Regions from separate parts of the Homo sapiens genome. Here regions 2 and 3 are each linked to region 1. The links are contacts of gene promoters, found by promoter capture Hi-C in blood cells and fetal thymus (Javierre and others, 2016). All regions are on one chromosome and are shown on one strand. The core of a region is centred on a gene start or on the middle of the fragment in contact, and the rest is flanking DNA. Distances in the headings are between cores, read along the strand shown.

Region 1 (3,926 bases), core at 1-2,500:
TGCGCTCGCTCTCGTCCCCTTGGCCCATCGCGGCGCCCCCTTAGGCATGGCGCGGCCCAGCGACACCCATGGGAGCGGCCGCCAGGGGGAGTTGGCGCCGGGGAGGGGGGCGCGCGCCCTCTTCCCCCCTCCCCCCAGCCGTCGGGGGGAACAGAGGCCTGCGGCTCTGGCCACCCCAACGAGCGAGCCAAGCCTCTCCGGGCGCTTTGTCGGGTGCCGGTCCAGGGGAATGTGCGCGGGATCCCAGGGGTCTCTAGGAGCCAGATGTGGGAGGGAGCTGGTCCGGCAGCGGAGGAGGCAGAGGAGGAAAGAAGGGAGGGAGAAAGGGAGGGAGAAAGGGAGGGAGGGAGGGAGTGAGGGGGAAAGAGGGAGGGGGGCGGGCTCAGCAGCGAGCCCCGGGAGGTGGGGAAAATGGGTTGGGGGGCCGGGCTCCCGTCCCCATCTCCGCGGGAAAATGGAGAAATCGGCACAAAGCTTTTGGGGGAAAGGTCAGCCGCTCCCGGGGCCGGACTAGAGGCCAGCCCCCAGGAGGGGGAGGGGAGGAGACAGGGCCGGGAAATTCGCGCTCCTCTGTGAGGTGGTCGCCGCGGCGCGCTCTCGGCGCGGGGGAGATGGATGCCGCCTGCCTTCCTCCCTGCGTGGCCGGGCTGCAGCTCGGGACGCAGGGCGGGCTCCGGCCCCCTCCCTCTCTCCTTGCTTGGCTGCCTGCTCCCCCCGGCGGCGGGCCCGCCTGCCCGCCCGCCCTCCTCGTTCCTTCTCCCCGCCTCCTGGAGGAGATGGCGGGCCCCCTGGGCAGGGGCACCCGGGGTGTTGCTCGTGCGGCTAACGCCGAGCGCTGCTCTCCGTGAGCCCGGGCTCGAGCTGGGGTTCCGCTGGGCTGCGCTCGGACTTGGGCTCCCGCGGCGGTGCTGAAGGGACAGCTCCCGGCGGTCGCGGAGCTGCACGGGGCCAGGCGGGGGTTCTCCTGGCTGGGTTTGATTTGCGGGGCCGGCGGGCACTGGCTCCGGTGCCTCTGCGCCCCGCACTCCGCTCCTCGCTTCGGGCAGGCGGTGGGCGCTGCCGGCCGAGACGGGGGCTGCGGAGGTCGGGCGGGGAGGCGGGGGTGGCGGGTCCGGGCGCGGCGAGGTGAGGCCAGCGAGGCCGGTGAGGCGAGGCGCGGAGCGGCCGCTGCCGCCGCCGCCGCGACGCTGCTGCCGCCCGGGCTGCTGCTCCGCTTGCTGCTCGCCCGTCGCCTGCTCGTTCGCGCGGTCCGCGTCCAGCCCGCCGCTCTCCGGACACGGGCACACGGCGCGCGCAGCCGCACTCGCCCCCGGAGGAAGGCGCCGCGCTGGGTCCTAAAAAGCCCTGATTCCGCGCCCCCCTCCCAGCCCCGCACCGAGCCCGGCCTCCCTCAACCTCGGCGCTGGGGGCGCCCGCCCCGCGCGGCTCCTGCTGCTCCCGGGGGACCCGCCCACGGTCCGCCCTCGGGGAACGCCACTCCAGGGGCGGGGGCTCCGAGAGACGTCTGGGCCCGCGCCCCCGGGTCAGACTGAGGTGAGAAGGGCGTTGGCACCCTCCCCTTGCCTTCCAAACCAGGGACCATCTGATCCCTGGTGAGACAAAGCTCTCCCGGAGTTTTGTCATCAGAGACACCCTGGCCCGGACCAGTGCTGACCGCTCCAAGGAATCCTTTAATACCGACCCTTCTCGCGGAACCTGGAGGCCCCATGTTCCTTCCATGGGTAATGTCTTGCATGAACCCCAACACACACACACACACACACACACCACGTTATCCTCTACGCCCTCCACTAACAATCAATCCTGGACCCCTATTAACCCCTTTGGACTCCTTACTGACCCTGGGCCCTTTATAGCTTCAGACAGAGGGAGTCTCCCATGAGTGCCACATCCATCCAAGCTCACGGACTCTCCCACACTAACCCTGGATCCCTAGGTGGAGACCCCTTATGAAAAGGACCTTCTGCCCTCAGAGGTCAGAAGCAGCAACTGCTCGTAGTTTCCCTGAGCACTGACACCCCCACCCCGCACTTCCTAGGGCTTCAACTGCCCTGGGTGATAAGCTGGTGTTATGTCTGGGAGCTGGGTGGGAGCTGCTGCTTGCTGTGATTCCTCCATCTTCACAGTTGGTCCTGGGGGTGGGAGTTCCAGTTTGAACCTCAAAGCCTTCCTGGCCCATGCCTGCTGCTAGTGCCTTGGTTTACTCAGTAAAGCAATCACTCCTTTACTCCTTACTTGTTTCAGGATCCGTCCCAGGCACAAGGACACAAGAGATGAATCTGACCCAGCCTCTGGCCTTGAGAAGCTCCCAGCCTTCTGGGGAGGTGGCCAGGTGGGCCTAGGCAGGACTGGGGAGGTCAGGCCCGTCTCCAGGGGTGGCTGGGGTGGGAAAGAGGCTTATTGATCCCAGCTCAACCCAATCGAACACAGGATGCCTGGGCAAAGGGCGATTTAATTAAGAAGATATGAGGCTTTTATTACTGCTGGCACTTTCTAACTGTGCAGACAGCTGTCCCTCTACCCTGACCCACAGATGCCGTTGTGAGCCTGGGGACAAAGCTGTGCCACAGACATCGCTCTCCTTACTTGGCCAGGGGAATCCCAATCTAGCCACAGGAAAATCTGTGTGTGGTGGGTAAAAGGCTTGAAGGGGTGGAGAGGGGCAGGGCAAGGATTGACAGATGGGAATAGGACAAGGGGAGAGACAGAGAGGCTAAATTAAGTCAGAAATGGGCAGAGTTGGGCAGAGACAAAGAGAGGGTTGGATTTTGGGGCCTGCATGGCACCTCCTCCCTCCAGATATTGATCTGTGTGATTCCTCTAAATAGGAGCTGTTTCCCCTTCAATCTCAGAGTAATGCAGGGATGAGAGTGATTTTGAGTGTCCCTTTCACCCTGACCAGTGTGAGTCCCCATCTCCTAACCACAAGGAAGCCTGGCCTGGTGTGGCCCGGCCTGGTGTGGCCCATCCTGGCCCATATTCAGATCCCCGGGACATGGGTTCTCAGGAAATTCTGTCCCAACATTGGTAGAAGATGAAATAGAAATGGAGAATCCAGAAGGAAGAGAAAAAGGTGGACACAGAGGCAGACACATACACACACACACACACACACACACACACACACACACACACACACACACAGCTGGGAGAAATCAAGATGGGGAGAGACAAGAAAGCAGCCTCTCCAAACCTTCCTTTCTTTCTACCCAGATGTCCAGCCCCTCTTCTCACCCAAGAATCTTCTGGGATTCTACTAGCCATAGGGTTCCAGGACTTCACCTCTCTCTTCACCTGCAGAACCACACGGGATCAGAGTATGGCTCCTGATCTTCTCCATAGCTCATCTGATCTCCATAAAAGGACCATCAGCTCCTCCAGGGCTTCTTGTTTGCTTCCCTCCAGAGTGCCCAGAATACAGTAGATCCTCACTAAGGTCCAGATGATTTGAGAAAGGCTAGGAGAGAGGCTGGGATCCTAGAACCCAAGTGGCAGAGACTGTGGGAGTCTGGAACACCTAATGGAGACCAAGTCAGGAGGAGGGACTTACCCAGGGTTTTTTAGGGAATCAGTGCAGGGCCCCATCACTACGCCATGGCGAGTCCTAATAGGGGGCTGCAGTGTGACCCAGGCAGTTGGGGAGGGGGCACAGAGAGACAGAGAGAAACAAGGGGCTCCTGGTAGGCAGAAGGTTGGGTGATTAGGGGCTCTGGACGATGTGTTAGAAAGAGGGAGGTAGGCCAGGGTTGGAGGCAGAAGGAATGTGAAAGGGTATTCATTGCACCCTAAAGCCCATTACACCCTAAAATCCCCCAAGAGGTAAGCAGAGAAAACTCAGACACAGGAGCCTCCCCAGCAGGAGAGGGTAGCTGTTCCCAATGTGCCCCACACTGTTCCACTTTAGGATTCTCACTTTGATCCCTGAT
Region 2 (3,926 bases), core at 785-3,284, 210 kb before region 1:
TGAGCTGAGATCGCACCACTGCACTCTAGCCTGGGCAACAGAGCCAGACTCTGTCTCAAAAAACAAACAAATAAACCAAAAAACAAATAGAGGGAAGGGGATATAGCGAGCAAAGCTAGTGAAACGTTGAGATTTGGGAATATGAGTTAATTGTAAACAGGAGTTCTTTGTGTGGTTCTTTCAACTTTTATCTAGGTTTGAATTTACTTCAAAATAAAAAGATTTGAAAAACTTCGAACAATAATGAAAGTAGAGCACATCAGTGTTTGTGGGATGCAGCTAAAGCAGTACTTTGAGGGAAATTTATATCTTTAAATGAATATATTAGAAAAGAAAAAGGACTAAATTCAACTGCTTAAGGTTCTACCTTTAGAAGTTGGAAAAAGAGTAAAAATAAACCTGAAGTAAATAGAAAGAAGAAAATAATAAAGGAAAGAACAGAAGTTAATGAAATAGAAAGGAGAGAAAAATAAAAGTTCAAAAGCAATTCTTTGAAAATATCAACAGAATTGATAAAGCCCTACCTGGACTATCAGGAAAAACAAGGTCACAAAATGCAAATATTAGAAATGAAAGTAGGTATGTCACTACAGATTATGTAGACATTAAAGGAGACTAAGGAAATATTACAAATAACTTTATGCCTATAAATTCAGCAACTTAGATAAAATGGATTAATTTTTGAAAAACTACAGTGTACAAAAACACAAGAGGAAATTGAAATAGAAAATCAGAATATCTGTATGTCTAGTAAAGAAATCAATTTATTATCAAAAACTTTTCCACAAAGAACTCTTTAGGCCTAGGTGGTTTCTCTAATAAACTTTATCAGATATTTAAGTAAGGAAATAGTACTATTTTTACACAAACTCAGAAAATAAAGGAGGGGACACTTCCAAATTTATGAAGTCAGCATAATTCTGATACCAAAGACATTACAAAAAAGAAAATTATTGATTAGTATCCCTTATGAACATAAACACAAAAATCTGCAACAAAATATTAGCAAATCAAATCCATTAATATTTAAAAAGGATAATATATCATGACCAAACTATGTTATCTCAGGAATGAAAGCTTGCTTTTTCACTTGAAAATCAATTTAATTCATCATGTATTAACAAAATAAAGGAGAAAAACCATAATAATAACTTCAACAGTTGTGGAAAAATCATTGACAAAATTTAACATTTATTTGTGATAAAAACTTAGCAAATTAGAAATGGAAGGGAATTTCTGCAGTTTAATAAGGGGCACTTATAAAGCACTAACATGATAATTGATGGTGAAAAATTTAATGTATTCCTTCTTAGATCAGAATGAGGCAAGTATGTCCTCTCACCATTTTTATTCACTATTATACTGGATGGAGGTTCTAGCCAGTGCCATAAAGCAAGAAAAAGCAATAAAAGGCTTAAAATCAGAAAAGAAGAGGTAAATCTGTTTCTATTCACAGATGATATGATTGTTGAATTATAAAATCTAACAAATCTATAAAATAACTATTAGAACCAAAATGGCAATTTAGCAAGGTACAAAATCAACGTTCAAAAATCAACTTTTTTTTTATATAGCAGCATCAAAGAATTGGAAAATTTTTAAAAAGCAGTTTTTTTACGATTATAATTTTACAGTTATATCAAAAAGTACAAAATATTTAGGTATAAACTTAACAAAAACGTGCAAGACTTGTACATAAAAACTACAAAACACTGCTGGGAGAAGTTAAAGACCCAATTAATTGGAGAGAGATATCACACTCACAGATTGGAAAACTCAATGTTGTTAACTTGTCAGGTCTTCCCAAGTTGACTTGTAGATTTAAAGCAACCCCAATCAAAATCTCAAGAGACTTTTTTGGGGGTTGAAGTTGATAAGCTGATTCTGACATTTATATGGAAACATAAAAGGCTGTGACTATCCAAAGTAATCTTGGAAAAGAAGAATGAAGTTGCAAGATCCACCTAACCCGACTTCAAATTTGCTATAAATCTACAAGGTCTCAGCAACAACAAAAACCAAACAGCCCAATTTTAAAAAAGGGCAAAGGACTTGAATGGACATTTCTCTAAAGATAATATACAAATGACCAAGATTATGTGAAAAGTTGCTCAACATCCCTAATCATTAGAGAAGTACAAATCAAAACCACAATGAGATACCACCCAACACCTATTAGAAGGGCTACTATACCAAACAGAAAATAAGAAGTGATGGCCAGAATGTAGAGAAATTGGAACCCTTGTGCACTATTGGTGGGAACGTAAAATAGTGCAGCTGCTGTGGAAAACAGCATGACAGTTCCTCAGAGCATTAAAAATAGAATTACCATATGATCCAGTAATTCCACTTCTGGATATATATCCAAAAGAGTTGAAAGCAGAATCGTGAAGATATATATGCATACCCATGTACATAGCACCACTATTCACAATACCCAGAAAGTGGAAGCAACCCAAGTGTCCATCAAAGGATAGACGATAAACAAAATGTGATATATACATGCAATGGAATATCATTCCGTCTTAAAAAGGAAGGGAATCCTGACATATACTACAACATAGATGAACCTTGAGGACCTTAAGATAAGCAAAATAAGCTAGTCACAAAAAGACAGATACTGTATGATCCTGGGATGGGTACAGAGTTTTAGTTTTGCAAGATGAAAAGAGTTCTGGAGATGGATGGTGGTGATGGTTGTAGAACAATGCGAATATACTTCACACCACTGAACTGTACACTTAAAAATGGTTAAGATGGTAAATTTTATGTTATGTATATTTGCCACAATTTTAAAAATTGGAGGAAAGACTCATCAGCATATGTGAAGGACACTTGTATCTACAACTTATTTTAAAATACATTTAAAAAGATTGGTGAATAGAGAGAGGGATGGCTAGATTTGTGATTAAAGCAAATACAGAAAAATGTTAACTATAGAATCTAGGTAGTAGGAATATGAGTGTTCATTGTACAATTATTTAAGCTTTTCTGTATGTTTAAGCTTTTCTGTATGTTTAAGCTTTTCTGTGTGTTTAAAAATGTTTATAATAAATATTGGTGGAGAAACCAAATTGTGAGGAAACAGAAAACTTATTTGTAATGCTTTTGGCCACAATTCAGCAGAAGTACAGTGACTCGGAGCCTGCCTTGAGCAGTGGGTGGTCTGACCTTGGGCGGTGGTTCATATCTCAGCCTTTGCACTTACTTTCTCCAGTGTAAGACTGAAGGAACACTAGAAAGGGGCCGTAAGACTGATCATCAAGCCGGTCATGGTGGCGTGTCCCCGTGGTCTCAGCTACTCGGGAAGCTGAGGCAGGAGGATCTCTTGAGCCTGGGAGTTAAAGGCTGCAGTGAGCGATGATCATACCACTGCACTCCAGCCTGGACAACAGAGTGAGAGAGAGAGAAAAAAAGACTGATCACCATTTTTCAAAGAAATGGTTGTGTGTGGGTTTGGGCAGAGCATGGGAAACTGACATTGAGGGCTTCCTTACCTAGCATTCTACATGTACACTGTCTTGTTTATTTCTGCCATTAGTAATAATAAGTTATGTACATGTTATTGTCTCTGTTTTACAGTTGGGTGGGCGGTGGTGGGGGATGCGGTCACTGGAACTCAAAGAGGCTAAGTATGCTGCATAGCTGAGCAGGGCCTTCAACCCAGATAATCTTGACTCACCATGCACCGTCTTTTCCTCTATCCCAGATGGCCTTGTTAGCATCCTGGGATATTGATGTCTTGCCCACAAGGAGAGGAATGTTTAGAGTGCAAGGTGGCTTGGGTTTTCTTTGACCCCTCTTTTTTGGTCTGAAACGTGCTATTCTAACTTCCCTGTTGAACCCACCATACTGGACTCAGTTCATTTGCTAGACCTCTTCCCATTCAGCTTTCTTCTTCTTTGTTAGACTGGAGGTGGAAAGGA
Region 3 (3,926 bases), core at 466-2,965, 170 kb before region 1:
GGCCACAGCATGGCACTGTCTCCTAGAGCCTGAGCCACCAAGCGCCCCACCCCCACTTAGCTCTGTGCTGCAACCCCCACCCCACCAACCCCCTTTGCAGGTGATTGTTCCTGTGGCCATTTTGCCTTCTGTTTCTCTAAAGACCACAAAGCTTTTATATCTCGCAGCTCAAGAATGGCTTTTTCTCAATAAAAAAGACAGAGACTGGTTTAGACCGAAACTTCGTTAGCCACTGGTATTCTAAACCATGGATCAAGTCTTTTGGCTTTGCAGAGCTGGTTTTGTCAGGAGGCTGAAACTGGGTTTGAGAGTTCTGCACGGTAATGAGGAAAGGGTTGGTAATGTTTCAGTTTGCCTGTCTCCTGTATTCCCTTCCTTATCAGCCCACCCCTCCCCGTGCCCTGCTCCAACTATGTAGCATCCACCTCTGACAGTGTCAGTGCTGAGCACCAACACAAATTAGGAGCTCCTAGAGAAGGAATGAGTGGTTATGCCAGAAGGGTCAGGGGAAGCTTCTTGAAGGCAGTGGCATTCAAACTAGGTTTTGAGTGATGAATTGGGTCAAGACAGGAAGAAATGAAGGGAAGATGCTAGTGGCCTCCCATGCTGGTCTCAGGACTGCCTTGTTAAGGCTGGAGACCTCCTCAGCAATCTGGGGTTGGAATCTATTTCAGAATTTCGAGGCTGACTGAGACCCTAAGGATCTGCTCATCCAAGCTCCTTATTTTATTTATTTATTTATTTATTTTTCAAGCTCCTTATTTTAGAGATGGGCAGACTAAGGGACAGAGAGGAAAGGACCAGAGCATAGGCCAGTCTAGTGCTGTTACAACCACACAGTTCCCATTTGTGCACTTGTCCTCATTTCTAATGGGTCTCTGAAAACATTCACTTCTTCTTTCTGGGTTTCACTCCTGTCACCTCTGACTCCTGTCATGTGAGCTCTGAGAGACCCAATGGTCTCCACTTATAAATTACCCATTAGAGAAGGAGCCCTGGGTCCTGCTGACTTTGGATTCCAAGGTCACTCCAATCTCTGCCAGATAACTGCATCCTTCCTCCTCAGACTAAGCCTGGTTCAGCCAGTGCTGGTTGTTCAGCAAGGCTGGTGCCTCCCCAAGAATGCTTGGTAGGAATGGGTCTTGCCTCAGAGCAAGGGCTCAGATTCTCACAGTCAGAAAAGCTGAGTGTGTCAAGAACCCAGGCCATTGCACTTTTATGCTATTCTGTGAGAAAACTGGGCTCATTGTGACTAAAAATTGTTTCAATAAATTACACTTCAATTTATTGAAATTTGCTTTAAAGACAATGTTTGTTAGAACATTTAAATTCTGTACAGCATCTCTTTCGCTTTTGAAGAGAAACAGAGGGTGGAATAAAAGCAATCTCCCTAATAAATTTTCCTGGATATTTTGGATAGTCTCCAGTATGAGGAATGTTGTCTTTGGACCAAGTATTGATGTTACAACTGAAATGCAGAAATGTGTACCCATATTCTTATAGATGTACTAAAGTTTGCTAATCAAATGAAGTATTTGTGTAGGATCTTTCAGGGCCAATTTCAAGACCAACATGTTTTGGAAGACAGTTGATATTTCAGATGTCAAGTAGTCTCTGGGTTGAGCAAAGTTGGAAAAACAGATGAACCCATTAGGATAGGTGAAACTTCTGCCTGTGAGAATTAGGCTTTGATGACCCAGGGAATCAGGCATCCAGGACTGATCCAGTTCTCAAGCAGAAGTTTCTGTCTTGCACTGCATTGCATTGTGTTTTGGGTCAGAGAAGGTGGTTTTAAATGCCTCTAAATAATTTCCTTGGTCTTGGAAGGTTATATCTGTTTGCAGACTGGTAGGCCTTGCATCTAGTTGGTATTTACTAAAATAAAGAAAGAGGGAGAAGGAAAGAAGAAATGCTTCTTGATACCTAGGGAGGTTTCTACTCAGAGGCTGACATAGTCATATAAATTTCCATTTATTCTTAAACTAGGACTTGTCACTAGAGTCACCTAACAGTTCATAGAAATGGTTTGAATAGACAGAGTAAAGCTGGAGAGAGATTATAATTTGAAGTTTATCAAGAGTCACCTCTCTTCCTAGAACAGTTACATTAAAGGAATTGAAAGGCAGGGCCTGTGGCTATAGTCGAATGCCCCAGCGGGGCTCAGTCTGGCATGGTGGAGGCTGGCTGGGTAGTCTTTCCAGGATCCCAGCCTCTTTGGTCATGGACATTTATCTTAAGAGTAGACTTTAGTCCTCAACCATTCACTTTTAGCTGCTGCAAAGGGTACCTTGGAGAACCCCCACTCTTTTCCTTGAGGACTTCACTTCTGCTTCACTGGTTCAGGCTGTGGCCAATGTTCCTACTTCCAGCCTTGGAAATGCTTTTCTGTTTCTTGGAGCCCTCATTAGCCCTCTGATACAAAATCAACACAGGGTCTAAAGCAGTGGGCTGCATTTTCTCCTCTTCCCTCGGCTTTGCTACTATCCCAATCCCTGAACACTTCCCTGCATATACTCCCCTGGCCCTAGATACCTACTCCTCTGTTCTAGGCACACAGAGCAGTTGTGGGCTAACTGATCTGGCACTTGTGGTGATGCCTGCAAGGCCTACACGGCCAAGGTGAAGGAGGGATTATAGTGTTCATAGTTGATGGCTGTTACCTTGTCACTTAAGATGACCTACGGAAGTGGAGACTCCCCTTTCCCTTTTTCTCCACGGCTGTCCTCTTCCCTACATTAATGACTCCTCAGTTCTGATCATGGTTAGAAAGCTCAGGCAGCTTCAGTGTGCCTCTTCCTTCCTTCCATATTTATCTGTTCAATGATCAAATCCTGTGATTTTTACCTTTGGAATTTCTTTTATATCTCTCCCCGTGTTTTAACTTTTGCTGCCACCTGAACAATTGCAAATAAGCTTCTCTTCCCAAAGCTCTGCTCTGGAAATGTCTGTCCTGGTTGCAGCCTCTACAATGTCAGCTTCCATTGCTTGCTGCCCAGGCCTCTCCTCATTTACTTGTTTGCATCTCAGGCTTTTATACTAAATGTTCATTAAACATTCTACAATCTATCTAGGGTAACCTTGTCAGAACAGGGAGGGAAAAAGGAAATATCTATCTTCTTTCTTGTCATTTCTCTCAGATGAATGAATTAAATATTTTTATTGCCTTGAAGATTAATTATCTTCTGTCCCCAGGCCAGCTTTAGTATTCTAGCTGTATCTTCTTGTGACTGGACCTGCCAGTTGGAGTTTCTGCCCCCACTCTCAACTCTGTGTTTTTGCCAGGTTTTTCTTCATCATCATATCATGTAGGCTTCCGCAGTGAGTCACAGTCCAGGGGTTCAGAGAGACTAGAGTGTGACCTGCAGGGTTTAGAATAAATTTTGAATTATCTATCTTAGAGCTGAGAGACCTCCTGAAATCTTCTGGTCCTTTCTGGCACATGAGATACTGTTATTGTACTTAACAAGTGAAATACCTGAGACCTAGAGAGTTTAAATGACCAAGCTAAAGCTGCCCAGCTAATAAATTATGAGTCCTAATGGCAGATTTTATCCTTCCGAGGAAAGCCAACTCTTAATTTGGAAAAGGCATCAACTCTCTGGATTCTCTTTGCAGATAAAACAGTTTAGGACCTCCTTTTGTAATAACATGCCTTGTTAGTGTAAGGAAGGAAAGACAGCTTAGAAGTCATTTCCTTGGGGCAGGTGATGTCTGGTAGATAGGCAGATATCCCTTGTCCCTTGTCTTCTAGAAAGCTCATGAGCTCAGCATGTTGGCAACTCTAGTCCTGCATGCTTCTTGTTCAGCTAATCCTTGCAGGCGCTCATGTACAAAATGATTTTTTGTTTGTTTGTCTCTGAAGTGGCTTCTCAGTCCTTGAGGGCCACCAGGCACTAATTCCTCGTTTCTGCCCATGTTCCACCTAA

The links. The method cuts DNA at HindIII sites, captures the fragments that hold promoters and counts their contacts. A CHiCAGO score of 5 or more calls a contact.
Region 2: a contact is called between a fragment that was not itself captured here and the fragment with the promoter of KCNC1 in region 1, in 2 of 17 cell types (megakaryocytes and M2 macrophages). The highest score is 6.4, in megakaryocytes.
Region 3: a contact is called between a fragment that was not itself captured here and the fragment with the promoter of KCNC1 in region 1, in 1 of 17 cell types (fetal thymus). The highest score is 9.4, in fetal thymus.

The regions. Positions count from the first base shown.
Region 1 is chr11:17,732,105-17,736,030 of GRCh38, reverse strand. KCNC1 (potassium voltage-gated channel subfamily C member 1) reads right to left here and starts at 1,250. Exons shown (of 4, transcript NM_001112741.2): 1 at 1-1,250. The coding sequence starts at 28. RefSeq lists a silencer at 1,311-1,410. The HindIII fragment of the contact is 3,804 bases long and covers 477-3,926 here.
Region 2 is chr11:17,940,077-17,944,002 of GRCh38, reverse strand. The region is part of intron 9 of SERGEF (secretion regulating guanine nucleotide exchange factor); the gene reads left to right. Among named protein-coding and RNA genes, the nearest start is that of SERGEF, 71 kb to the left of the region's middle. The HindIII fragment of the contact is 1,909 bases long and covers 1,080-2,988 here.
Region 3 is chr11:17,902,647-17,906,572 of GRCh38, reverse strand. The region is part of intron 9 of SERGEF (secretion regulating guanine nucleotide exchange factor); the gene reads left to right. Among named protein-coding and RNA genes, the nearest start is that of SERGEF, 110 kb to the left of the region's middle. The HindIII fragment of the contact is 2,401 bases long and covers 515-2,915 here.